2 separate regions of the Homo sapiens genome follow, and region 1 is linked to region 2. The links are contacts of gene promoters, found by promoter capture Hi-C in blood cells and fetal thymus (Javierre and others, 2016). All regions are on one chromosome and are shown on one strand. The core of a region is centred on a gene start or on the middle of the fragment in contact, and the rest is flanking DNA. Distances in the headings are between cores, read along the strand shown.

Region 1 (2,700 bases), core at 155-2,654, 290 kb before region 2:
CCCTGCAAATATACAAAAAAAAAAAAAAGCCCATTGAATTGTATACTTTCAGTGGGTGAATTATATGATATGTGAATTACATCTCAATAAAGCTGATTTATTTATTTATTCATTTATTTATTTTGAGACAGGATCTTGTTCTGTCGCCTAGGCTGGAGTGCAGTGACGTGACACAATCACAGCTCACTGCAGCCTCGACCTCCCAGGCTCAAGTGATCCTCCTACCTCAGCCTCCTAAGTAACTGGGACTATAGGTGCATGCACCACCATACCCAGCTAATTTTTAAGGTGTTTTTTTTTTTTTTGTAGAGACAGGGGTCTCACTATATTGTCCAAGCTAGCCTCAAACTCCTAGGCTTGAGTGATCCTCCTGCCTTGGCCTCTCAAAGTGCTAGGATTATAAGCGTGAGCCACTATGCCCAGCCTTGTTATTTTTTAAAAAAGGATTTTAAAAAATTATAAAAAGGATAATAGGAAGCTGTTAGAGGGTGATTTAATCAGCAGTAACATTCTCACTCAGGCTGTTGTGGGAGAACAAACTGTAGGGAGGGGAGAGTGGGGGCAGGAGATGGTTGGGAAGCTAGTGCAGTCGGCCAGGCAAGGAGCAATAGTGACTTGGCCTGGGTGGGTCACTTTGTGATGAGGATTAATGAAAAGGCCAGACTGGGGTATTTTTTGAAGCTAGAGTTTGATAATTGGTTGTGAGGGGTGGGAGAGAGAGATGAATCCTGGCCATTTAACTGCAGTGAAAAGACTGGAGGAATAGTTGGACAAGCGGAGGGACGGGGCATACGAGTTCTGTTTTGAACATGACAGGCCTCCGAGGTGTCCACTAGGCAGACGGGATGTCAGGGCAGGGTTACCACCATGTAGATGGTCACTGCTAAGAGCTGGGCACTCCTCCAAACACATACATTAAATCATTTAGTCTTCTCAGTAACCTATGAGGCGAGAGCTGTAGCTATCCCTGTCCATAGGGGGCGTATCCTGTGTGCCATTTCAGATGCCCGCGGCCTCACCTCTTGTTCCAGCCATTGCCCCAGTGACCAGTTTTGCACAGGTCTTGACCAGTGCCGTGTAAATGTCGCCTGGCAGGGCCTCTCCACATGCCTCTCGCCCAACACCATGATGGGGGGACACCCATGGAACCTGCTTGGCATTAACACATGAGCCGCCCAGAAGTGAAGGGGAGCTAACATTCCATGGGATGACTCGAGAGGAGCCAATGGATAACTGTCCCCCTTCTTCCAGTGAGTTCTGAAGTACGTTTCATAAAGCTTCACAGAAAGACTGAGTGGTGTTCACTCAGAGAGATGTTAACACACTCCCATATTGACTCCCCCCTTTCTCTGTTTCATTCCTCCTCCCCCTCACCCCTGCTCCCTGGGATCATGTTCCCAAATAAACTACTCATGCTTAAGCCTTTGTCTCAGGCCCCATGTAAGATCTGATCTTACATGGAGAATTTAACAGCAACAACATCACACCAGGGGCATGCTCACCAGGGGCAGAGCAGGGGTTCACACCCCGGCAAGCTTCTCTACTCGCTTCCATGTTGCCTCTCAAAGATCCCAACCTCTAGAGGACATTTAAAGGCACAGGCCTAGATGGAATCTAACCATCTAACCGGGAGAGACTGTAAATAAGAAAAAAGTCCCCACACCATGCTCACATTTAGAGATCAAGAAGAGGAGGAGCCAGCGAAGGAGCCAGAGAAAGAGCTGCCATCCGGGTAGGAGGAAGCCAGACCAGTGTGGAGTCCTGGACTCCAAAGAAAGACAGCGTTGCAAGGAGGAGCGAGTGCCCTACTGTGCAAACGCTGCTGAGAAATTGAGGAGGTGAGACCAGGAGACAGACCTTTTGGATGCGCCAGTAGGAGGTCACTGGTGACTTGGACAAGGGCAGTTTCAATGGAGTGACAGAAACAAAAACTTGGCTGGTGTAGGCTAAGAGGGAATGGAGGTGAAGATTCGGAGAAGTAGCCAGCAGGGACAACCACTTCAAGGAGGGGTGCGTAAAAGGGAGGAGGAAGTGGAGCAGAAGCTGAAGAGGGTGTAGGGTCAAGGAAGAGTTTGTTTTGAAAGTGAGAGAGATCATAGCGCAGTTATGTGCCGAAGGGAATGGTCTGGCAGAGAGAAGGAGCTGGATAGTGCAGGAGGGAGAAAGGTGATTTCAGGCAGTCTTGAGTAAGTGAAGGGATATGGTGCACAAAATGAAGGGATTGGCCAGGGATGCAAGAGGAGGCCATCCCTCCATCTGTCCATCCATCTATCCATCTGTCCATCTGTCTGTCCATCCATCCGTCTGTCCGTCCGTCCGTCTGTCCACCCATCCATCCATCCATCCATCTGTCCGTCTGTCCATCTATCCTTCCGTCCATCCATCCATCCATCCATCTATCCATGCATGCATCCATTGTGAGGAAGAAAGGTAGCAGCGGGCATAGATGCAGGCACCTTGGGAGATCTGATGGTGAGAGGCACGTACGTTCCAGCAGATGACATTTAGTTTCTCAGCAAAATAAGAAGCAAGATCTTTAACTAACAGCGAGAAACTAAGGGAAGGTGTTGAGGGTTGGAGAAGATGTGAAACACTTATCTGGAGAGTGGCGCAGTGAATTTAGTAGAGAAATATAGTAAGATTACTGGGCAAGCTGAGCGCCCACTTGAAGTTTGTGGTCAGAAGCGTCAAGTGCGGCTA
Region 2 (2,784 bases), core at 227-2,726:
CTAACTACACACTTGGTGGGCGACCTCAAGCAGATTTCTTAATGTCTCTGAACGCTGGCAATGTTTTAATCTATAAAAGAGGGGAAGATCATAACCATTACCTCCAAGAGCTGATATGAGATAACTGATACTGTAAGAGAAACTGGCACACAAACACTTTCCTGCCCACCGTGGAGATAAAGGAGGATCACTCTTTTCCTCCTCTCCATTTTCCAAATTGTATCCTGATGGTGGTTACGTTACTGCTCTAATTGAGGGGATATAAAGGTGACTAAGAAAGCCACCACAGGCCGGGTGTGGTGGCTCATGCCTGTAATCCCAACACTTTGGGAGGTCGAGGTGGGTGGATCACCTGAGGTTAGGAGTTTGAGACTAGCTTGGCTAACATGGTGAAACCCTGTCTCTACTAAAAATACAAAAGTTAGCCAGGAGTGGTGGCGGGCGCCTGTAATTCCAGCTCCTCGGATGGCTGAGGCAGGAGAATCACTTGAACCCAGGATGCAGAGGTTGCAGTGAGCTGACATCGTGCGACTGCACTCCAGCCTGGGTGACACAGAGAGACTCCGTCTCAGAAAGAAAAGAAAGAGAGAAAGAGAGAGAGGAGGAGGAGGAGGAGGAGGGAAGGAGGGAAGGAAGGAAGCCACAACAGCCCCTGCCTCTGAGGAGCACAGAGTCCCCACTGGGATCAAGAGACATCAGGAGCAAGGATCCAGGGAGACAGGAGAGCTGAGCAAGGGCACTGGCTCTGTCTGCAGGGGACTAAGGAAGGCCACCATGGCTAGAGCACGCCAAGCAAGAGGTTGTGGCAGGCATCAGAGGCCACAGGGGTCAGTGGGGACCGGACCACAAGGGGCTTTCGGAGTGCAGAGCAAGCTGGCAGGCTGGGCTCCCTCCCCGCCTGCCTAGATCCATCCCAAAAGTTCCCTTTTCTGTGTCTAATTTCCATTCTCAGGCTAGCTCCCTGGGCTGGGCAGCACATCTGACAATTCAGGCCTGGGGCTTGGCGCCCAGGGCAAATATTCCACCAGGTCCTCCACTATGGTCACTATTTATTCCTCCACCTGCTGAAAGGAGGTAATCATCCTATCTATCTTGTGGGACTCATTGGGTTACTAATGTGTGTGAAGCACCGCATGCCTGGCCTGGCATTCAGTAGGAACTCTACAAATGTTCAGAGCCAGTCCCTGGTGTAAACAGCCTTGCCAGTGTTGGGGACTTCTGCCTGGATTCTGTGGCATCTCGTTACCACACCAATCTGGTAACGGCTTGTTCCCCAGCCTCCCCATCACACACACACACACACACACACACACACACACACACACATCCTGCTTTCAACTGTCCTTTGCCCAGATAAGGATTAGCCCATCCCTCTTCATTCCCTCGAGCCTTCTGCATCTGGCCCTCCCAGTGCACCTGTTCAATCCCAGCCCCTCCCTGACCTGTACAAATACACCTGAGGACAGACAGTGCCCCAGACTTCCTGCCCCTGCTCTGCACTCTCAGGTAGGGACCTGGCTCTACTTGCTGTTGGCTGGGGACAGTAGGGTCTCTGTGGGGTATGTTGTGTGTGCATGTGGTCAGGGTCTCTCTGGGTGTGTATATGCATTGAATTGGTATCCGTGCTTCCGTGTCTCTGCATGAGGGTGTGTGTCTGTCCATTTGCACTGTCCCCACTCCTGGGCTGGGCCCCTACACTTCCACTGTCTTCTTCAGTTATGATTTATAGCCTTTGCCATGCCAGGCAGCAGGGCTTAGCTGAGAGTGGAAGAAATTGCATGAGGTCCCTTCCAGAGCTGCCAACTCCTGTCCCTCAAACACCTGGGCCTGAACTGGGGAGATACATTCTGAGGATTGTCTTTTCTCTTTCGTCTTACCCGATCCTGACTGGCCCTGAGGTTTTCTTTACCTCTCCTCCCCGCAAAGCCCAGCCCCATAGGTCTCTTCCAGCTTTATCACTCACTAAGGGAAAGGACGAGGGAGCACGAAGGACCATGGGTATAGTTCACAGGCTGACCTCAGCTGAACACTTTGAGTACAAGTAGAGGCCAGTGAAAATGGGTAGCTCAAGAGGTGCAGGGGGCCGGGTGCAGTGGCTCATGCCTGAAATCCAGCACTTTGGGAGGCTAAGGTGAGAGGATCACTTGAGCCTAGGCTACATAGTGAGACCTTGTCTCTACAAAACAATTTTTTTTTTTGAGACAGAGTCTTACTCTGTCACCCAGGCTGGAGTGCAGTGCTGCAATCTCGGCTCACTGCAGCCTCTGCCTCCCGGGTTCAAGCGATTCTTCTGTCTCAGCCTCCCAAGTAGCTGGGACTACAGGTTCCCGCCACCATGCCCAGCTAATTTTTGTATTTTTAGTAGAGACGGGGTTTCACCATATTGGACAGGCTGGTCTCGAACTCCTGACCTCAAATGATCCACCCATCTAGGCCTCCCAAAGTGCTGGGATTACAGGCATGAGCCGCTGTGCCCAGCCAAAAAAAATTTTTTTAATTAGCTGGGTGTGGTGGCACATACCTATAGTCCCAGCTACTCCAGAGGTTAAGGTGGGAGGATTGCTTGAACCCTGGAGGTCGAGGCTTCAGTGAGCTGTGATCACGCCACTGCACTCCAGCCTGTATGACAAAGTGAGACTGTCTCAAAAAAACTTTTAAAGAGGCACTAAGGCTCCCTAGAAAAAAAAGAGGTTCAGGGGGCTGTGTCTTGCAAGAGGCTAGGGTTGTTGTATTGGGGGCGCTGTTTGTTTTTGTATGCTCAGCAAACTTGTAAGTACCAGAAAG

The links. The method cuts DNA at HindIII sites, captures the fragments that hold promoters and counts their contacts. A CHiCAGO score of 5 or more calls a contact.
Region 1: a fragment that was not itself captured here is called in contact with the fragment with the promoter of PHGR1 in region 2 in 1 of 17 cell types (activated CD4 T cells); the score reaches 5.4 in activated CD4 T cells.

Annotation. Positions count from the first base shown.
Region 1 is chr15:40,059,002-40,061,701 of GRCh38, forward strand. All of the region lies in intron 2 of SRP14-DT (SRP14 divergent transcript), which reads left to right. Among named protein-coding and RNA genes, the nearest start is that of SRP14-DT, 21 kb to the left of the region's middle. RefSeq lists an enhancer at 2,580-2,639. The HindIII fragment of the contact is 258 bases long and covers 1,276-1,533 here.
Region 2 is chr15:40,349,557-40,352,340 of GRCh38, forward strand. It overlaps PHGR1 (proline, histidine and glycine rich 1), which reads left to right and starts at 1,477. Exons shown (of 4, transcript NM_001145643.2): 1 at 1,477-1,506. The HindIII fragment of the contact is 24,416 bases long and covers 1-2,784 here.